Linked DNA regions of Homo sapiens: all the other regions are linked to region 1. Evidence: promoter capture Hi-C in 16 types of primary human blood cells and fetal thymus (Javierre and others, 2016). All regions are on one chromosome and are shown on one strand. The core of a region is centred on a gene start or on the middle of the fragment in contact, and the rest is flanking DNA. Distances in the headings are between cores, read along the strand shown. Region 1 holds the start of NSUN2 (NOP2/Sun RNA methyltransferase 2). Region 2 holds the start of ADAMTS16 (ADAM metallopeptidase with thrombospondin type 1 motif 16). Region 3 overlaps MTRR (5-methyltetrahydrofolate-homocysteine methyltransferase reductase). Region 4 overlaps CFAP90 (cilia and flagella associated protein 90). Region 5 overlaps ICE1 (interactor of little elongation complex ELL subunit 1). Region 6 overlaps ICE1 (interactor of little elongation complex ELL subunit 1). Region 7 overlaps ADCY2 (adenylate cyclase 2).

Region 1 (2,994 bases), core at 127-2,626:
GACTCATAAAGCTGCAAATCGCAAATCGCATGAAAACTTGCGTAGCAATATAATGTTGATAAAAGCACCAGGTACTAGAACATTAGGATGTTTGCAAAGTATACCCAAGCTCTTTAACAGCAAATGCAGTACCAAGAAATATAATTCAAGTGATAGAGATTAATATCCCAAATAAATATTCGGCATGAAGCACTGTGGTACCTACCAACTCAGTGGCTGTGGAACTTCAACTTTCTGACCGTCCACCTCCAGGTCCTCCAATTCCTTAAAATATTTGTTCTTTAAGCAATGGAGAATCTCTTTTGCGTGGCTATTGAAAAATAAGGAAGTTTCAAACTGATCTAAAAAACTAAGTTAATACATTGTATCTTCTTAAATTTAAGACTGCAAGTGTTTTAAAACTAAAACCAACTTTTGCATGGAGAGTAAACATTCTTTAGTCACTACTTTTACACTGTATGCCTTCAAAATTTAAGCAATCCACACTGTTTGAGCCCTAAGAGCAACACTGCATTCCTTCTCTCCTAAGCATATCCTACCGTTAAGTTTTACTTGCGACTCATTTAGAAAGATGTAACTACAAAGATGGAGGGGGGGCGCGGAGGAGGGGAGAACCAAGGGGTTTTATGCATTCTCTATAAATTCTCTTACGTTCCAAAAGGTAAGACCCTCAGCTTCCCTCCTGGAAGATTCCCCAGGAGCCGAATCTTCCTCAGATCTCATTTTCATTTCGTCTTCTAACCTTGCGCCTGCAATACCTCCGTGACCATTTCATTGGACCCTGTGCTCCCCACCTCAATGCTTCCTGAATCCAAACCGCTGAAACGCCACGGTTCTCTGGCACTGTAACACTTGTCGAAGAAAACACCGTCGCCTTTAACCTCCAGCATCCTGGCCCCAACTCCCAAAAAATCAGGCACTGCCTCCCTACCTTTTGTAACCAGTAATTCTTAAAGTGGCCGGGAGCGGCTCCCTGAGAGCGTCCATGAACTGGCCCCACTCGCCCTCGGGCACGATCTTGAGCTCCTGGTAGTAGTGCTCGAACAGCTTGTTCTCCTTGACGATCTCGGGGTAGCCTCCTTCCCAGCCCTGAGGAAGGAAAGAGACGTCTACCCCGAGGCCCAAGGAGCCGCCCCCTCGCCGCCGCCTCGCAGGCCTCGGGGTCCGGGAAGCCCAGGAGGAGCCCCTGGCCCGCCCGCCGGGTCCCGGCTCCTACCGCCTCGCCGCGCTTTCCACCACCCTCGGCGCCATCCTCCGCGTCCTCCGGCCGCTGCTGTTGCTGGAGCCGCCGACCCCGCGACCGCCGCCCCATAGCCCACGCGGCCGCGCACGCAGCACGCAGAAACCGGCCCGCCACGGCCAGAACTCTAGCCCTACACCTCCCGGGACTTCCGGCCGGAAACCAAGGCCCCACGTGTCCGGGCCTGGTCCTTTCGGGGACCTTTGGGGACCGTCCAGGAATAAGCCCAAAGCGCACAACCCGTCTTTCAGAAAAGCGGCGTGACAGGGAAAACAGCGAACAGCTCTAAGGGGAAAAAAATGCTCCAGGAAGCAGCCACAAAGGCGTCTCCGCGCGAAGCGCCCAGGTTTCCCACGCGGGCTCAAGGAGCTCCGCGGACAGCCTGAAGCCGCGCGTGCGCAGAGCGGCGCGGGGTTACTGCGGCCCCGGCGTGGGTGGGGCGCTTGCAGGTCCCTCCCCGCGCAAGTGCTCGCCCCGCCCCCGGGGCCGCACCCACAGCCCCGGCTACCCCGGAGAAGCCTGACTTGAGAACCCTTTCTGCAGAGTCCCGGCAGTGCGGGACTCCGGTAGCCGCCCCTCCGGTAGCCGCCCCTCCTGCCCCCGCGCCGCCGCCCTATATGTTGCCCGCCGCGGCCTCTGGGGCATGGAGCACGCTGCCCAGCCCTGGCGATGGCAACGGCGACGGGGGTGGCGGAGGAGCGCCTGCTGGCCGCGCTCGCCTACCTGCAGTGCGCCGTGGGCTGCGCGGTCTTCGCGCGCAATCGTCAGACGAACTCAGTGTACGGCCGCCACGCGCTGCCCAGCCACAGGCTCCGAGTGCCGGCGCGGGCCGCCTGGGTGGTGCAGGAGCTGCCCTCGCTGGCCCTGCCGCTCTACCAGTACGCCAGCGAGTCCGCCCCGCGTCTCCGCAGCGCGCCCAACTGCATCCTCCTGGCCATGTTCCTCGTCCACTACGGGCATCGGTAACGTCCCCGGCCCCCGGCCCCCTACCCTACTCCCGGCCCGGCGTCCTCTCCGACCCTCCCCTCACTGCCCGGTGCCCTCTCCCCGAAGCCTCCCCCACCCAGATGCCCTCTCCCTGCCAGATCCCCCGGGGCGTCCCCCATCTGCACGGGTGCCCTTCCCCGAGTCCCCCGGCCCCGGGAGTTTGGAAACCAGAAGGGATTCGTCTGGAAAGGGCGGGAAACAAAGGACTGGAAGGGAGTGATGGAAAAAAACATGATGAAACTGATCTGGAAAGAGCCACTCAGTGGTCCTAGGTTTGGTTTCCTTAGCCGGGCGCGGTGGCGCCTGTCTGTGATCCCAGTTACTCGGGAGTCTGAGATGGAAGAATCGCTTGAACCCGAGAGGCGGAGGTTACAGTGAGCCGAGATCTCGCCACTGCCCTCCAGCCTGGGTGACAGAGCGAGACTCTGTCTCAAAATTAAATATATAAAAATAAAGAGTTAAAAAGTAAAAATGTAAAATAAAAATGAAGACTAGATTTTGTTCCCTTAGATCACGACTGTGGGGGCGGGGGGGAGGGGGTTGGCCTAGAGTCTAATGCTGATGGTCGGTCTTGAGGGCCACTGGTTTCTACTCCTTTCTGCCGGTTCCCCTTTTGGTATCTTTGGTGATGGTGGAGCTGTTTTCTCCCAGCCAAGTGATCAGCTGCAACTGGAAACCTGCTGTCCTAAAACTGCCTAGCAGTTTCTCCTTATAGGCTTGATCACTTTCAGAGACTTTCATGTCCACCTTATGCAAGGGACCCCAGG
Region 2 (2,994 bases), core at 138-2,637, 1.5 Mb before region 1:
AGGCGTGAGCCACCGCGCCCGGCCTACTGCTCACTCTTTGGGTCCACTCTGCTTTCATGAGCTGTAACACTCACCGTGAAGATCTGCAGCTTCACTCCTGAGCCCAGCGAGACCACGAGCCCACCGGGAAGAACGAACAACTCCAGAGGCTCTGCCTTAAGAGCTGTAACACTCACCGCCTAGGTCTGCAGCTTCAATCCTGAGCCAGCGAGACCACGAACCCACCAGAAGGAAGAAACTCCGAACACATCTGAACATCAGAAGTAACAAACTCCAGACGCACCACCTTAAGAGCTGTACCCACTCACCGCGAGGGTATGCGGCTTCATTCTTGAAGTCAGTGAGACCAAGAACCCACCAATTCCAGACACACTATGGGCTCACAGCGTGTACTCGCGCACACGCAGTCAGGTGTGGATGTACACCCGCGCACACCCAGGCACATGTACACCCGCGCGCTCACACACCCCATCCAGCTACAGCAGAATTCTGGCCAGGCTGTTGACCGCACACCTGCTGCCTCCTTGGCCACCCTGTCCACACAGTAGCCCGATCGACCCCCGTGGCGGCCGAGACCCAGGCCCATCCGCAGCCCTGAGACCTCCCTAGGGATTGCACCCAGCAGCCAGTCACCGGCCTCCGCGGCCTGGCCAGTTGAGGGTGGCCGTGACCGCGGGGCCAGGAGCGCCGCCACATCTCGGGGCAAATGGCGCGGGGGAAGAGTTTCCTCCTCAGCCTCCCCGTCTCCGATCGCTCCGCAAACTCCAGAGCGAGGCACGCGCCTTTAAAGGCAGGTCCGCGGCTCTCCCACGTCCTGGCGCCCGGTTTTCCGCACCCAGTGTCCCCACAGCTGTGCCCGGGCACAGAGGCGCGGCCAGACCGCACTCCGCGGGCTGCAGGTGTCCCGGCCTCTGGCGGCGCCGGTGCGGCCCGGAGGTGGGAGCCCGCGGAGCCACTGCAGTAGCTGGAGTCCCGCCGAGTCCCCAGCCCCAAGGCAGGGCAGGAGCGCGCACCGGCCGGAGGTCCATGCTGAGCATCGCCCGCGCCGGTGCCCGGCAGCCTCTCCAACTGTGTGGTCCCCGCGCGGGCAGAGAGGCACGGACTGCAGGCCGTGGGCAGCTCCATCTTCCCGCGTCCTCCTCCTCTGGCGCTGCCCGCTGTCTCCCGCCTTCCCTCTGCTCCCCGCTCGCCTCCGCCTCAGCGCCCCGCTGACCTCGCCTCCTCCCCTCTGCTCTTTGTCCCTGCACTCTCCCCTCCTCGGTCCTCTGACCCCCCCGCCCTCACCTCCTCCCCTCCTCTCTCCCCTGCCCGCCCCGCGCTCTCCCACCGCTCCCGCCGCCCCCGCCGCCGCGGCTGCCACTCCGCCCCCCGCGCCGCACGGAGCTTCAGTAATAACCCCGGCGCGGCGGCGGAGTCGCTGTGGGGAATCCTCCCGCGCTCTGCCTGGGTCGGGTCCTCCCTGCCCGCTCGCACGCTGCCGGCCGGGGACCCTCCGGTGGCCCCTAGCCCCTCGGAGCGCTCCTGGATGAAGCCCCGCGCGCGCGGATGGCGGGGCTTGGCGGCGCTGTGGATGCTGTTGGCGCAGGTGGCCGAGCAGGTGAGTCCCGGGCGCTCCCACCAGCGCGGAAACCGCGGGTCCGGACAGCTGGAGGCGAGTCCCCCGCGGCTCCTCTCCCGCGGACCCCGCCGTCTCACCGCGATGTCGCCGCTGTTTTCCGCAGGCACCTGCGTGCGCCATGGGACCCGCAGCGGCAGCGCCTGGGAGCCCGAGCGTCCCGCGTCCTCCTCCACCCGCGGAGCGGCCGGGCTGGATGGAAAAGGGCGGTAAGTCCGTGAGGTGGGGGCTTCTAATCCTTGCCATTTAGCAGCTCGTAATCTCCGTGCCGCTGGTTTATTAGGTGCTGTGAATGTTCACGACTCTGTGGAACCCTACTTTTAAGATGCTGTTGTGAACTTTTTTTTTTTTTAACTGTATGAGCGAGCCCCGATGAGTGGATTTCCACCAATATTTACATTTTATTCCCTGGCAAAACGGTTTGCCAGAGTTATTGATATAACATTAGGAAAAAGGTGAGGAAGTTCATTTTATTTTATTCTAAAGAGCTTAGGAAGAATCTAAAGCTATTAATGTATGCATCAAAGCCGTCATAAAGAGCAAATTACTTTCTTTTCCGTCCCCTTCTACATCCTCGGATCCTCCTTCCCGTCCCCAACCTTTCCTCCTTCTCCTCCTTTATAGATTAAAATATTCCTCTATCGTTGCTTATTCTCAGTGAAGGAGATAAAAGAAGCGCTTAGCATCTCAATACCAAAGTTAATGCTCCAACAATCAGGGCGTACTTCAAACATAATAGTGCCTGAAATGGCTAATCAGCTGATTGTGACACCATCAGCAACGTTCATATCCTGGGCCACAATTTGACATGAGGGCAAGTCTTATTCTTTTTCAATGCATGCTTTTACTTCTGCCACTTACAAGTGACATTTGGAAATTTGCTGTCTTATGGAAAGGGATCTCTGTGTCTTCATACTGCATCAGGTAAATGAGAACGCAGGTGTGTCGCACTGGTTGCTAGGTGGTTTTTTAACCTGAACCCATCCAATGACAGTTAATAAATATTATTTTGCATTGTTACCAACAATAAATTGCCGTATCAAATGTTAATATTAATTGACTTTTATAGGAAGAACTAGGTTTCATTCTCTCAATGTATTTCCAGAAGATCTAGAAAATTAAAGTTAACAATTCAGAATTTCTCAGTATAGTTATTTCAATTTGATAAAATAACATAAAGGCAAGCACTTAATATATGCATTAACTTTTGAAATTATTCCCTGCCAAATGAGTACACAAATAGTATATAAGGTGACCGGTGTCAGATTGACGCTCACCATAGTACCTTTTTGAGAACCACCAGGGGGCGCTAGGTGCAAATGATATAAAATGTTAAAAAAAATTGTCACAGTGAATTTACAAGAGAAAGTTAATTATCT
Region 3 (2,836 bases), core at 127-2,626, 1.3 Mb after region 1:
GAATAAGAAGATAATGGATGTTCTAATTATTGGACATTTGTGGACATGAAAACTGAGTGTAAATGTAGTTTTTGAGAAGCATTGGCCTAGGTTATTTTTAAAAATTCTTTTCCTATTATGTTTACTTCTCATAGTATGTTTGTTTTTGCTCATTTATTATATAAAATAATTGCTTTTTCCATAATTAAGAGAAGTTATTTATTTTTCAAAATATAAATATATTATTTACTTAGAATCTTGAAGTAGTCCTAAATTGATTTTTTGAGAAGAATAATGCTAATGGAGTACTGCTGTCTTTTTAGCTTTCATTTCCTTAATTTTAAATAATTTTCCTTTCTTTTATTTGGCCTATCTTGAATTTATAGTCTTCTTATGTTTTTGTAAGGTGGAGTTTTTTACTGTATTCATTTTGGGGAATTTTTTTGGCTGAATAAACATTGCCACAAGTCATGTTGCACTTTGATGCGCTGTAAAGTACTACAGTAATTGTGTTTTGGGGAGTGTGTAAAACATTTTATTCTTCATCTTCTATGTCATGAACCCCTTTCCCGTCTTTACCTGAAAAGGAGCTACCTTACCCCAGCATATACCTGCGGGATGTTCTCTCCAGTTCATTTTTACCTGGTGTCTTGAAATCCGAGCAATTCCTAAAAAGGTATTTTTTTCTGTCTTCTTCAGGTAACTATTTTAAAATATGCTTAGCTTTATTTAGGATTGATTAAACAAATTTAGAATATGCCCTTTGCAGTCTTAAAAAATGTGATCTTGATAGCATGTTTTTAATATTAGTTCCCAAGGGTGTGTGCTATCATCGTAACTATCATCTATGAATCTTTTTATGTTGTATTTGCATTTAAATTTTTGTTTTCTATTGAAATGAGGGCTTAAATAGGGCTTTTTCTTAGTCTAAATAGGGCTTTTTCTTTGTCTTACTTTTACTAGTTATTAACTACGTAGCACATTCCACAGTGATGGAGGTGACTGCAGTTGACCTTGTGTTACCCAGCTACACATTGCTGCTCCTTCTTTAATTGGTGACAGAAAGCTAATGAGAGCGTAGGATTCCCCCCAACCACCACTTGCCACTTCCTACAGTTGTTAAGATCTACTTTGTGTAATACTACATAACTATTTATTGCTGTAACAGAAAGCTTCAGGAAAAATGGAAGGGTTTTGGTAGGTAATAATCAATTATTATGTGAACTTGGAGGTAGAATAATCCACTAGATGTCAGTATTGTACCAGGAACTGTTTTTTTAAAACTACTTGTAACTGATTTCTTCTAACCAGCTCCCGGAAGTGGCCATTAATGGATACAATTTTTCAAATGTGCCTTGCCACACTTGTATTGTCAGTGAGCATAAAGAGTGTTGTAATTAGGCCGCCATCTCCCCAGTGTGGTTTTCGTGTCGTTTTATTAATGTGTTTATTGCATTTCTAGTCTTGGGTGAGTAAAGTACTTTAGAGAGAGGCTCAGCTCTCTAAATAAATATATGTATATTTATATATATATAGATTTATATATATATATATTCCATCTTCCTTTCCTGGTAATCAGCTCGAGATGTAATTTGAGTATTTAGAATTAATTTACTGTAATGAAAGCTTACCGATTAAGTCACAATTTTGGTTCAGCTCTACCCTTTTAAAATTTGTGTAAAGTGTGTGTGTATGTCTGTATATGTGTATATATATGTGTGTGTATATATGTGTGTGTATGTATATATTTGTGTGTGTGTGTGTGCATATATATATATATATATATATATATATATATATATATGGGTTTTTTCAAAAATAGTATGCTCATTGGAAAAATTCTGGATACAGAAATAACCCAGGAAACCAAAGTATTTTATAATCAAACCCTCTGAGTTAACACTTGAATTTTGTTTTCCTGAGGAAAATATGGGTATCCATATTATATGTGCTGTTCCATAACTTGCCTTTTTAACTTAAATCAAGAATCTGTATATTTCAGGATGGAAAGAGTTTTAATGGATACTATGGATACACCATTATTTGTTGATGTAATTATGGGCAATTGAGTCATTTTTGCTTTTTCACTATTAAAAAAGGCAAACTTTCTTGTACTGTATTAATTTTTGAACACTTACTTGAAGTATATTTGTAAAACAAATTCCTTGGAGTAGAATTGCTGTTTTAAAAATATTTACATTTTAAATTGTAGTAATGTTTGTCAGGTTTGTCATCTTGTTCTCCAAAAACAGTGCAGTATTTCCTGTTGTAGTACCATAAAGTTTTTGTAGTTCTAAAGTGAAAAAAGTATGTTAAAGGAAAAATTGTCACTGTTTTAGCTTTTAATTTAGGAGATTGTATTGGCTTTAGAATTTACAAACTGTTATTGGTAGATGTTTTTATTATCTTGCCAAAGTCTTTGCAGAGATTTGGGGCGTCCATTCAGCAGTGTTTCCTGAGTCGTTGTTTTTGGTCAATGCTGAGTTTGGCACTTGGAGGAACACGTGTAATTTGTTAGTGTCCAGGTATTTTAGACAGAGATTCTTCAGCCAAACCTTTGGAAACCTGTGACTCCTTTGGGAACAGTGATTTTGTCCTCCCTGTTAAGGAAGTCCAGGACACAATCATCTTGAGCCATGGAATTTAAAGTAGCAGTACCCATTAGCATTTCACATAACATTTGATGCAGATAATTACTGAAGTGCTTTGTTCCTAAAGAGCCCTTGAGAAATAAGCTATGTCTGCCTGTAATTAATAACTTGTAATTGCATTGAAATAAAAAATTCTTACTAGCAAGTTTGATGTTTTGTTCAGGAATTTAGACTTTGAGAATTGAGATTCAGAATTTTATTAGTTT
Region 4 (2,994 bases), core at 255-2,754, 1.2 Mb after region 1:
CAGGAATGTGGGTGACTCCAGTAAATACTACTTCTAGTCCTGGTCCATAAAAAACTCTCAGGCAGTCCTCCAAACCCTCTCTCCCCACTCACTGGCTAATAAATTCAGAGCATCCAATAAATGACTCTAAAGTCCTAAAAACTCCTAGGCCCTAGTAATAGTGAAACCATGAAAAAGAAGGCACTTGGATTTCCAAGCAATTGCACCAAGAGCCTCCCTGGAGAAACATAAATGCTGGGCTATGAATGAGAAAAAAATAAGCCTCTATGATGTCATGGTTATTATGTTAAGCCCGTTGGTGCACCTATGTTTAACAACCCACTTTCTGGAGAGAAAAAAATCTGATTTGTAGTATTTGATGATTTCTGTGGTGTAAATACTTCGGTCATGGTCAATTTTAGGCTACCAGTTAAATGCAGAGCTTAGAAGAAATGCTAACAGTTGGCTTTTGTGAGTCATACAAGCCAGCTCCAGCACACCGGCGGTTAAGACTTTTTGGGTTTAGGGTGTGTTTCCATAGCACATCCTAGCCCACCTTGTCTAATATGCTAATCAACCTATGAGTGGGCTACCTCATTTCCTGTCCTCAGAAGCCACAGCACTATGACCTCCTCATCTTGAGGCTTTCCGTGAGTTTGCTTGTCCAGGGATAAACAACCTAATTTTAAAACTGAAAACCCCCAAGGTGATCCAAAACAGTTTCCTTTGATTCATCAGGGCCTCAATTTACTTCTAATAAATCCAGAGCATCTCCTTGGAGGTTTGGTATTGTGTGAAGCTTAATGAGGACATTTTTATTCATTTTAACAGCATTCAAAATTCTGTATCTCAGAGGACTGTTGCTTGCGAAGGACACAATGTTAGGTTTTTTTGAAAAGACAATACTCAACTATTCTCTTTGGGTTTTTGATTTTTCCTGTGGAAAAGATTCTATGTCCTCTCCTGGTACATTAATATCACAAGTTTTAGAAATTCTTATAAATTTTCAAATAATCTGGATATTTTACCATCAGACTGAAGTCAAGATAATTCCTCCCTCTGATCTTGTGTCTGTGTCAAATTCTAAGAGTGTTCTGATTCAGAGAGTTCTACATTCATCTATGTGCTCAACTTGTCACCAGTTGGAAACTTGGTGATTGTGGAGTCAATTGTTTTTCCTCTTCCACTGATACCAGCTCCCTACTCACCCCTCACCCCCAGCCCAGCAATTCACAACTCAGGAAGAAACAGCGATCCACAGGGGCTGAAACTCGAATTCAATCTTATATGTTCCTCTTGGTCAAAGTTATTGGGAAAAATGTTGTCTCTTTTCTTGTGTCATTTGCTTGTACCCCTTAAAACGGGGTGATTTTGAAAAACTAAGATATGTTATTAAATGAAAAGGGCAAGCTGCAATATATGTGTCCATATTTGTGTGATCTGTGTGTGAATATGTTCTTGTATAAAAAACATTAGATACGTATCTCGACAAACATGCACTCAATGAAAAGACACAGAGCACATGCTCACACAGGAGTTTTGATTCATTGGAACATGGATTCCTCACTCTCGGTGTTTCGTACCATGTGAAAGGTCTCCACTAGAACATGCCTGCCTCCCCTTTCACTCATTCCTCTCTCATAAATGGGTTTGCAAGGGAAACTGGGCCTTGGGCTCAGCCCCCCGACCAACCCCTTTTTAAGGAGCTACCTGCCCTGGAGGAAGATATTCAGCCCCATTCCCCCAAGCCCTGAGTTTTCCAGGGGCAGGTCACTGGAGAGTGAAAATGCAACTAGAGAAGTAGAGAAGAAACTATAGCCCACTGCCATTGACGATACCAGAGGAGGAGAACGAGGACAGGGATAAGCAAAGCAGCAGATAATCCAAACCGAAACCCCCAAGTTACTCTTAAGAAGCAAATTTTGTAAGTCGGTGACTTATCCCTTTGTTTTAAAAATTGGCTTTCCGATTATTCATTCCTCATTTGTTCATGCAACAGGTATTTATGGAGTTCCAACTATGAGACAGGCACTCTTTTGATTGCTGAAGACATAGCTGTGATAAAGGTAAATCATTGTCCTCACAAAGCTCACATTTAGTGGGAGAAAACAACAAGATAACTAAGGAAAATACTTAGCAGGTTAGATACTAATAGGCAAAAGGAGAAAAATAGGCAGGGAGAAGGAAAGAGGTATCCATGCAGAGAGGTCATAATTTCACTGGGCCAGTACAAATTCTTTTGGAAAGGCATGTAAGCTTATGAGTCTGCTGGATAATGGGGAGTTGCCTAGATAATGACAGGCAGATCAGCAACAGAACTGAGTTCACCTTCCCCACACAGCCCCCTTGGAGTGGCTGAGTGTGTGTGGTAAAGGTGCTTGGTTCCTAAGCAGACAGGACCCATAGAGGGAGGACCTGGGGAGGCTCATATTGAGCACTGTCTGCATACTGTCAGGTCCTTCAGAGATTCCCCTTTGTGCCTCTGGACAGTTAGCATGTGTATTAGTCCATTTTTGCACTGCTATAAAGAACTGCCTAGGACTGGGTAATTTATAAAGAAAAAAAGGTTTGATTGACTCACAGTTCCACATGGCTGGGGAGGCCTCAGGAAACTTACAATCATGGCAGAAAGCAAAGGGGAAGCAAAGACCTTCTTCACCTGCTGGCAGGAGAGACAGAGAGAGAGCAAAGAGGGAAGTGCCACTTTTAAACCATCAGATCTCCTGAGGACTCACTTACTATCATGAGAACAGCAAGGGGGAAACTGCCCCCATGATCCAATCACCTCCCACCAGGTCCCTGCATCAACATGTGGGGGTTACAATTGGAGATGAGATTTGGGTGGGGACTTATTGCTAAACCATATCAACATGCATCTGTATAGGTGCTTGGCTGCACTTGGCAAAGGGAAATTCAGTGCTCAGGGAGGTAGAGTCCTTGATGCATAAAGAAACAGTCAGCTTCTGTCCCCAACATACACAGAGAAGAAAAGCCAGCTAATCCCACCAAACCTAA
Region 5 (2,994 bases), core at 296-2,795, 1.2 Mb before region 1:
CATGTCTTCTGTCATGTCCTCTCAGCTGGTATGCCTGCTAGCTTGCTCCTTGCCCTGTGTGCTCAGCCAGGTGTGATTCTACTTCCCCAAGAAAGGAAGGAAGCATGGGCATCAGCATTCACAGTGACAATTCAGGAGGGTATTGTATGGATAAAGTTAAAATTGTCTGGTAGAGGGGAGAAGTAAATGGGAAACAAAAAGTCTTGAGTAAGAGAGTGGGCTGCTCTGGGAATTGTGTTAGTGAATTAGTATAGCTTAAGAAATCACCCAGAAGGCAAAGAAAAGATGGTAGTTATGAGAGAAAAGAGGAGAGAATTGAAAATAAGCCTGAACTTTCCAATAGACTATATAATAGAAGCTCTAGAAGAGGAGAGCAGGGCTGCTAAGAGAAAGCGATAATCGAGGAAACAACCCTTAGTATCTCCTGGAGAGGAAGAACACCTTGAACCTCACTTCTTCCATAGCAGCTGGACCTGTGCAGGAATGAATGTGGGTCAGAGGAGCCTGATCGCCCTTCACCCAGGCACACCCTGCTCACTTTCACAATTGCGAGGTTCATTATTTAGAGGCCTTGGTTTCAGCCAACATAAATGACATCTGAATCTGATTGGAGGAAAAAAAAATGTTTTATCAGAGTATTACAATATCTGACCACAGATAATACAGTATCTGACCAGATTTGAGCTGATATGCAGCAGGGCCTTGGGAAATAATGTTAGTCAGAGACTAGAATGCTATCGGATAACTGAGAAATCTTTTGTTTTCTCATTATACTGTTTTGTGATCTTGTTTTTTGTTTAATCACAGTTAAATATAAAAAGGCAGCTAGACAGATATACAAGAGTTGTTAAGACAACAAGTCAGCAGCCCCCAGCCCCACTCATCCCTGCTTTCCAAGACAGAACCATTTTTAATTGCTTCCACTGTGTATTTTACAATGAATTTTCCTGTTGTTAAATAGTAGACTCATTGCTGACTTTGGGAGGTGAGGATTCAGCTCTCTTACTGCCCCATACTCCACCATGCCTAAGCATATCTCTTCTTTCTCCATTTGTTCAGTATAGTTATGATTTCAGTTAGATCAGTATTTGAAGTTGACATTATTAGGACTGTTATTTGAAGCTAAGCTGTGGTGTTTTCTGCATGGTTTCTTGTTTTCCCTGATAATGATTGTATCTTTAATTCAATTTTTCATCCTGAAGATATTAGTGAGTGCTTACTGCTATGCCAGGGACTGGATTGAACACTTTATATGGTGCATCTTATTTAATCCTGATAGTATGCCAGTTATTTAAACTCTTTTTGCTTCAGTTTCTCCATCTGTAAAACTGATGAAATAGTTTCGAGGCAGGGGAGAGGTTAAATAAATTTGCCCAAGGTCACTTAGCAGAAAGTGGGGGTGGAATAGGAATGTGAATCTGACTCTGTGACTCTGGAGCCTGAGGTTTCTTCGGGGTCTCTGCCTAAGTACTTGGCAACTCAAAATGACATCTAGAAGCATGGGAAAGATGAGCTAGGGTACCAAAGAACTCAAAAGAGAATGGGAGAAAAAAGAGGAAGAATCACTTTTATTTTAGAAAAAATAATAGTTTAAATGCATGTCCAAAAATAACTGCATTCCCTTGCAAGTCTCTGCCAGTTTGGTATAAATACTCGAATGTTTTCAGTCTTTCATTTTCTTCTCCCTTCGAGCTTTGGGGCCTACTGTCATCTGGTACGCAGCAGCATTCTGAGGGCTCTCTTCACCCCCATCTCCATTCCGAAGGACCATGTTCACATCTTTCAGTACCCCCTGAGAAAGAATGTCTGGGAAGTAAGTTTGTAGAGACTTTGCAGATTTGAAAATATTTATTGTGTAGAATTTTATCTTGGAATTACTTGCCCTTTGCCATTTCGAAGGCTTGCTTTCTAGGTCTAGTTTTTCGTGTTGGTGTTGAAGTCTGAAGCCATTCTATCCCCGATTCTTTGTGTATCACTTGATGCCTTTTATTTTGCTCTTGGGATTCTGGTAGGGTCTTTGCTTTGTCTCCAGTGGTCTGAAATTTTGTGTTCTTGTTTCATGGTTTGAATCCTATTGAAGTCCATATTCCAGGCCCTTTCAATTAGAAATTTCTAGATTTGCTTCTGGGAACTTTTCTTGAATACCAGTATTTTTTTTTTAATTAGGTCTCCATCTTCGCCTTATTCTTTATGTGGAACTCTTATTGTTGGGTATGTGGGGCCTCTTGTGTTGATACCCTATTTGTTTTTATTTATTTTCCTTCTTTCTCGTGTCTGGGTTTTTATTTTCTGCATCCTTTTTTTTTAACTTTATGGTCAAATATTTTGAGTCTTTGTTAGCTATAACAGCATTATTGAAATATAATTTACATATAAAATTCTGCCTTTTATTGTATACAATTCAGTTCAATTCACAGAGTTGTGCAGACATCACCACTACATAGTCCTAAAACATTTTCATCCTCCACCTTCCCCAAAGAAACCCTATACTAGTTACTAGTCATTTCCTGTCTCTGTACTCTTCCTCCAGTCTCTGGCAGCCACTGGATTACTTTTGGCTCTGTTAAGGAAAATTCATATGAATGGACTCTAGAATACACGTGGACTTTTGTAACTGGCTTTTTTCACTTAGCATAATGTTTCAAGGTTGGTCCATGTTGTAGCATGTATCATTCGTTCATTTTCATTGTCAAATAATTCCTGTTGTATGGATATGTGACATTTTGTGAATCAGTTCATCCTTTGATGGACATTTAATTTATGTTCACTTTTTGGCTAGTTTGAAATAGTGCTGCTATAAATATCAGTGTGTAAGTTTGCCGTGGACTCTATTTTCAGTTCATACCTAGGAATGGGACTGTTGGATCGTTGGGTAACTATTTAACATTTTGAGGAACTGCAAAACTAGTTTGCTCAGCAGCTGCCCCATTTTATATTCCCACCAGCAATGTATGAGGAATGTATTCAGTTTCTCCACATCATCATCAACACTTG
Region 6 (2,994 bases), core at 368-2,867, 1.2 Mb before region 1:
GAAGGTGATCAAGACATGACAGAAGGGAACTTTCCTGAGCAGAGAACACATGGAATATTCATATTCATAGGGGCCACCAAGTGTTGAGCGTGATTTTTGTGTACAGTCTCCGTCTCTGACACCTTCGTAGGAAATATACCTAAAATCAAATGAAACAGACTGAATATTAGAGGGATGGATAAAAATATTCCAAGCAATGCTGACATTAAAGCAGTCATGTAAGGTAAAAAATAATAAAAGCTTAGAAATGAATTTACATTATTGAAATGTTGATTAAAAGTATAGTTTGCCATGAAGATACTGCTAGTATGTACCTAAGAGTGTGAAACGATGTCAAGCAATACTCTTGGAAATCTAGGGGGACTGGCCAAATCTATTTTCGTCGTGAGAGACTTCACAATGTTTTTTAGAAAGAGAGAGCAAAAGCAGACAAGGGATGGAATTGGAATCACAGTTCCAAATGGATAATTTATATACAACTGTTTGTAAACCACACACCTGGAGTTTGTTAAAATACTTTTCAAATGTATAAAAGTTGACTAGTAAGTGAACAATAAAAAATACCTACAATTTAATATGAGCTTTTAATAAAAATCCCCCTCCCTCTGCAAAAACAAAACCTGCAAAACTTACCTAATAACTAAACTCACATAAGACACACAAAAAACCTCTCTTTGGTAACAGAGAAAATAAGAATTGAAATACTAAACTGTTTTGAAAGTAAACAGTAGGGCAATATTTATTAAAATCTTTAAGATATAGCCAATTCCTTCACTATTCAAAGGAATATGTTAAGGCCTTACGTGATACATTGTCACTTTAGAAATAAATACGGAGAATGAAGTGTTTAACTGAAAGAAAAAATTGATGAAAATGCAAACTTAATGAAATAGGAAACAAAGCAATTGATTTAGGACAATTAAATCTGATAGCTGGTTCTTTGTAATGCTAGTGAAACCAACAACTCTTTGGTAAACTTTGATTAAACAAACAAACAGAAGGAAAAACAGCACCAGGATTGAGAAACAGGTAAAACTACAGTCAAGAAATTTCATAATTCACAAGTTCATATTCAGATGTGAAAATGTAAGTAGAATGGTCCATTTTCAAGGAAAACATGCTCAAATTGACTCAGAACAATTGCTACAAACCTGAACAAAAAATAGGAAGAAATTTTTAACAATAGTTAAAGATCTAACACCATAATAAATCCGGATAATTTATAGGTGAGCTTTGTAAACGTTCAGTGAAAAACTAGTGTCTCTGTTATTAATTTTTTTGTTTCAGAACTTAGAAAATAAGGAATGTTTCCATTTTATTCTCTTAGGCTAGCATAATGCTGTACCAAAATCAAATAGCATGCACACATGTTCTCAAGATTCAGGACTCTTGTGTTGTTAATATAGCTGCAAAAATACCAAATAAAATTTTAAGAAATTAAATCCACAAATTTAGAGTACAGACAAATTATGCTTGAAGATTTATCTCAGGAATACTACAGCTGGGTCAGAGAATGTTGTGATCATCTCAATTCAGCACGTAGTCCCAATTTCAAAAAATTGATGAGGTAATGGAAAAAAAATTTTAACTTGAGAAAGGTGAAACATTCAAAGTATAGTTATTACTGTCAAAAACAAGGCAAGCATGCTTTTTGTTTGTTCCATTTTTTTTTTTTTTTTTTTTTGTACTGGAGGCCTGAACCAGTGCAACAGAATAAATGCAGAAGAGTAGGATCTGTGAATACTAATAAAGAAAAGTTGAAATTGTCATTATTTCAGATGATACTACTAATGTAGAGAATTTAAAAGACTCAGAGTTGGAATTAGAAGTAATAGAGCTTGGTAAAGTGCTGGCATATACAATGAACATATACATTGTACCGTTATTAACCTGTTAGAAAAGGAATGGAATAAGAACAACCCATTCTCAAGTGGCACCTGAACCAGCAGATGTCTAAGAAAAGACCTGAAAGCAGTATACAGTGTTTCTGAGGAAAACTGAAACATTCCTTAAAAGCGTTAAGGAAGACCTGAGTACATAAACATGTTCCTGGATGAGAAGATTCAAAGCATAAAGATGTAAAATTTCCCCAAATGTATTTATAAATATACAGAAATATTCAAAGTCCCATAGATGTTTTCTATGGAAGAGCACAAGCAGATGGTTTATAGGGAAAAGTGTATGTTCAGAATAATACAATTTTTCAACAGGAGAAAACTGAATAATGATTACGCTCTAACAGATATTCAGTAACCTACCCTGATTAAAGAAGTGTGGTATGGATACAGAAAATGACAAAGCAATGAAGTAGAAAATAAATTAAATAAATAAATATGTAAGTCCTTAAATATTCATACATGCCTTAGAGTTTGATAAAGGCAGAATTTTAAAGGATCAGGGAAAGTTGTGCAATTCACTTGAAGGAGGTGTTGTCTTCACAACTAAGTGTGAAGTTAACGCTGAAGATGTTTTTCTGCTTTGTTGGGAATAGAGTGCTTTTATTTATTTATTTTTTGGGTCAGATTAGCAGTAATGAATGCTCAGTTACAAAGGCATAGCTCTGGATGATAGCCTCCATAAGAATGGAAAAGTAACTTTTTTTCTTTTTTTTTAAGGTTCCTTGTTTGCTGCTTTGGGTATACGTAATAAGCAGGGATCCTGGTCAGGTCATTTAAGCAAAGGGGATTACAGTATTTGGAAGCAGGCTTTTGGGTAGGTTATATCACAATGTAGATAAGCTACTCGATCACAGAATTTTGGAACTGAAAAATGGATATGGCTCACACACAGTGGCAATCAGAAGGTTGTTTTGGCTCAGGAGAGTTGGCAGTGTCCAGCCTTTCACACTTACCCGTGAACTGTCCTCCACAGTTGTCCTGCCCCTTTCTGTGGACTTCATTTTTTGAAGTGATGCAGTCTGCCAGCTTAAGTAGAGCTAATCTCTTACAAAATCTGTGATTCCCTGAGACATTTGGGTTTTTAAAGTTTGGTCTT
Region 7 (2,994 bases), core at 305-2,804, 1.2 Mb after region 1:
TTATGCTGTACTTTCCTCCAAGGACATGCGCTGTATGAAATACAAGAAGTTTTCATTCCTGGAAAAGCCCAGGGCCCAAGGGTGCATACGCAGTGGTTGAAACAAGTCACGGCATTACTGTGAACCAGCATTTGAGAATGTCTCTATAAAATGCTCAGCTTCAGGTCAGCATCCAGCTGAGTAACTGGACGGTTGTCATTGCTTCACAGCTTCTTTCCAAGCCAAAATTCAGTGGAGTTGAAAAGATTAAGACCATTGGCAGCACATACATGGCAGCAACAGGTCTGAGCGCTGTGCCCAGCCAGGAGCACTCCCAGGTAAGACGCGTTGGCCACTTAACGGCACAGGTGAGCCTCAACCCCATCCACAAACCACCCTGGGACCAAAACAGCCATGAAATGCCCCAAGAACTGTATATTTTGTACAACCTAAAGCTCAGGGTCAAGGTCCTATGAGAGAAGATGAAAATTCCAGACTTCTTAGAGCCAGAGGATCTGTTCACAGAACTCCTTCTGCTGGCCAACAGGAGAAGAAAAACCAATCAGTAGCTGCTTGTTACCAGATAAATACACAATGAAGTAGAAGATGAAAGCTAGTTATTTGAAGGAGACTCAGTAAGAATGGATCCAGGTCTTTTGATTTAAAAGAATATAGTCAAGGCCGTGTGCGGTGGCTCACGTCTGTAATCCCAGCACTTTGGGAGGCCGAGGTGGGTGGATCTCTTGAGCTCAGGAGTTTGAGACCAACCTGGGCAACATAGTGAAACCCCGTCTTTACCAAAAATACAAAAAAAAAAAATAGCCAGGTGTGGTAGCATGCACTTGTGGTCCCTGTTACTCAAGAGGCTGAGATGGGAGGATGGTTGAGCCTGGGAGGTGGAGGTTGCAGTGAACTGAGATCGCACCACTGCACTCCAGCCCGTGTGACAGAGTGACACCGCATCTAAAAAATGAATTAAAATAAAATAATGTGGTCAAAAAACAAGTTGGCCACATGGAAATTTCATTGAAAAGGTCATTTGGGCAAAATTGAATATCTTCAATCAACTAAGGTTTTCGAGATTTTCTCGTGTGTGTGTGTGTGAGAGAGAGAGAGAGAGAGACAGCATGTATGTAGACATGCTTGTGTAACTTGTTGGAATATTAGTAAAAAAGACCTCCTTTCCCCTCAGGACAGTGGCCTTTGCTGTGGAGCCTGCCCTCTGCTGGGCAGACCACAGAGAAACTGCACTTACCAGAACACACTTTCTGTGGACAGGCAGGTTCTCAAAGAGAAGAAGGGTTGAGTACCATGTATGAGCCCCTCTCCCATAACCACCTCCCATGGGAAGAGTGAGAGTGGGGAGAGAGGCAGCAGGCACCATAACAGAGCTCCCTCTTCCAGGAATATCATGAGAGGGTCCTAGTTTCCCGCTTAACATTCATGCATTCATGGGCAAAGAGTAGAACATGGATAGACGTCTGACTCAAGATGGAACCCTAGCATTCTTCCAGTTAATTGGAGTGATATGTATTCCATTGGTTCTCCTCTTCAGGTGGTTGCCTTCAGATTATTATTTTTTAATGAGTATGCATTACTTCAGTAATAAAGAAAATAAAAGAAACAAGCCATAAAAGAAACCCCAGAAGAACCTTGCCTTTGAATTCTGAGCAACACCCTCTCAAGCCATCATGGAGTCTGTGGCCAAAGGAAAACTGCTGTATCCTCTGCATGGTGTTGTAGATTTTTAATGGTTAGGGTTTTTTCCAGAACATTAAAGTGTTAAAAAAATTGAAAAAATGTAAAATCGAGATATTAAAATGTACAACATTCTTTTAATTTTAAATATTCTATTTATAACCCAAACCAGAACTAATTACAATTTTAGTTTCCTGGCTTTCATGGAAACAAATATATGCTCCTCCAATGCCTTTAATGTTCTGGAAAACATTGACCATTAAAAAAAAAATAACATTAAGACATGTATAGAGACAGGCATTTTTCTTACTGCCTCAGGCTCTAAGATGCTCAGCACAACACTGTCAGGACCTATGTGTCTTAGTCTGCTTGGCCTGCCAGGCAGAATACCACAGGCTGGGTGGCTTAAATGACAGAAATTTATTTCTCACAGTTCTGAAGGCTGGGAAATTCAGGACTGAGGTGCTGGCTGATTAGGTGTCTGCTGAGGGCTCCTCTTCTGTCTTGCACACAGCAGCCTTCTCACTTCTCTTAGGCCTCCCATGGAGGGGAGAGAGAGAGAGAGACAGAGACAGAGAGAGAGCTGGTTTCTCTTCCACTTTAAAGAGGGCACCAGTTCCGTTGGATCGGAGCTCCACCCTTATCATCTTAGTTGACCATAATTACCTCCTAACAAAGCTCTGTCTTCAGTACAGTCACCTGGGAGGTTAGCACTTCAACATATAAATTTTAGGGAGGACACAATCCTGTCCACAGCAGTATCTTTATTTAAAATTTCATTATTTTAGTTCATCTTGAATTTTTCTGCATTGATTTTGATTTTTAAAAATATTGCACTAGCATATTATTTCTCATGATTGCTGAGCTTCTTTCTCCTTCTGAAGTTTCTCTCCTGAGGTGAGTGCCTCACTTACCTCACCCTCATCCAGTTATGACTTGGAGGCTTCTCCAGCTCATCTAATGAGGGCCATCAGGAGCACTTCACCTGATCACATCCACTCCAGCCCTTTGCTCTTGGACAGCCAACTAACAATACTTTGGCAGGGCCTCGGAGTGGGAGATCTTCCGAGGCACCACCACATGAAGACCTGTTCCACAATCAGTGTCACTCTACAGCCCAGGGTGCGTGTCTGCCTGTTCTTCCTGACCCTAACTCTGCCTCCATCAGACCCAGTCTTCTGGATGTTCAAGAAAAGTCTCCAGGTCTTTTCTCTTCCTTTCCGCAGCCACGCTTTATAGACTGAGAGTCCATAGCCACTGCCTTTATCTTTCACCTTCTACTTTCTCTCTACACCTCCACAATCCTGCCTCACCAAT

What was found. Contacts are between HindIII fragments. The CHiCAGO score rates a contact against its expected background, and 5 or more counts as called.
Region 2: the fragment with the promoter of ADAMTS16 here is called in contact with the fragment with the promoter of NSUN2 in region 1 in 1 of 17 cell types (total CD8 T cells); the score reaches 5.1 in total CD8 T cells.
Region 3: a contact is called between a fragment that was not itself captured here and the fragment with the promoter of NSUN2 in region 1, in 1 of 17 cell types (non-activated CD4 T cells). The highest score is 6.8, in non-activated CD4 T cells.
Region 4: a contact is called between a fragment that was not itself captured here and the fragment with the promoter of NSUN2 in region 1, in 1 of 17 cell types (non-activated CD4 T cells). The highest score is 5.2, in non-activated CD4 T cells.
Region 5: a contact is called between a fragment that was not itself captured here and the fragment with the promoter of NSUN2 in region 1, in 4 of 17 cell types (total CD4 T cells, total B cells, naive CD8 T cells and 1 more). The highest score is 11.0, in total CD4 T cells.
Region 6: a contact is called between a fragment that was not itself captured here and the fragment with the promoter of NSUN2 in region 1, in 1 of 17 cell types (naive CD8 T cells). The highest score is 5.7, in naive CD8 T cells.
Region 7: a contact is called between a fragment that was not itself captured here and the fragment with the promoter of NSUN2 in region 1, in 1 of 17 cell types (monocytes). The highest score is 7.8, in monocytes.

What each region holds. Positions count from the first base shown.
Region 1 is chr5:6,631,668-6,634,661 of GRCh38, forward strand. It overlaps NSUN2 (NOP2/Sun RNA methyltransferase 2), which reads right to left and starts at 1,377. Exons shown (of 19, transcript NM_017755.6): 1 at 1,217-1,377; 2 at 932-1,089; 3 at 206-310. The coding sequence starts at 1,312. SRD5A1 (steroid 5 alpha-reductase 1) reads left to right here and starts at 1,773. Exons shown (of 5, transcript NM_001047.4): 1 at 1,773-2,202. The coding sequence starts at 1,910. RefSeq lists enhancers at 1,473-1,984, 1,985-2,496 and a silencer at 1,620-2,009. The HindIII fragment of the contact is 4,632 bases long and covers 1-2,994 here.
Region 2 is chr5:5,138,943-5,141,936 of GRCh38, forward strand. ADAMTS16 (ADAM metallopeptidase with thrombospondin type 1 motif 16) reads left to right here and starts at 1,388. Exons shown (of 23, transcript NM_139056.4): 1 at 1,388-1,597; 2 at 1,722-1,824. The coding sequence starts at 1,526. ADAMTS16-DT (ADAMTS16 divergent transcript) reads right to left here and starts at 1,112. Exons shown (of 4, transcript NR_109915.1): 1 at 1,014-1,112. RefSeq lists an enhancer at 594-1,160. The HindIII fragment of the contact is 3,896 bases long and covers 1-2,994 here.
Region 3 is chr5:7,886,049-7,888,884 of GRCh38, forward strand. MTRR (5-methyltetrahydrofolate-homocysteine methyltransferase reductase) reads left to right here. Exons shown (of 15, transcript NM_002454.3): 8 at 567-655. Among named protein-coding and RNA genes, the nearest start is that of MTRR, 18 kb to the left of the region's middle. The HindIII fragment of the contact is 454 bases long and covers 1,150-1,603 here.
Region 4 is chr5:7,842,460-7,845,453 of GRCh38, forward strand. All of the region lies in intron 1 of CFAP90 (cilia and flagella associated protein 90), which reads right to left. Among named protein-coding and RNA genes, the nearest start is that of CFAP90, 7.2 kb to the right of the region's middle. The HindIII fragment of the contact is 1,457 bases long and covers 777-2,233 here.
Region 5 is chr5:5,429,687-5,432,680 of GRCh38, forward strand. All of the region lies in intron 1 of ICE1 (interactor of little elongation complex ELL subunit 1), which reads left to right. Among named protein-coding and RNA genes, the nearest start is that of ICE1, 8.5 kb to the left of the region's middle. The HindIII fragment of the contact is 4,322 bases long and covers 1-2,994 here.
Region 6 is chr5:5,450,501-5,453,494 of GRCh38, forward strand. All of the region lies in intron 10 of ICE1 (interactor of little elongation complex ELL subunit 1), which reads left to right. Among named protein-coding and RNA genes, the nearest start is that of ICE1, 29 kb to the left of the region's middle. The HindIII fragment of the contact is 2,759 bases long and covers 239-2,994 here.
Region 7 is chr5:7,804,376-7,807,369 of GRCh38, forward strand. It overlaps ADCY2 (adenylate cyclase 2), which reads left to right. Exons shown (of 25, transcript NM_020546.3): 22 at 210-317. Among named protein-coding and RNA genes, the nearest start is that of CFAP90, 45 kb to the right of the region's middle. The HindIII fragment of the contact is 7,785 bases long and covers 1-2,994 here.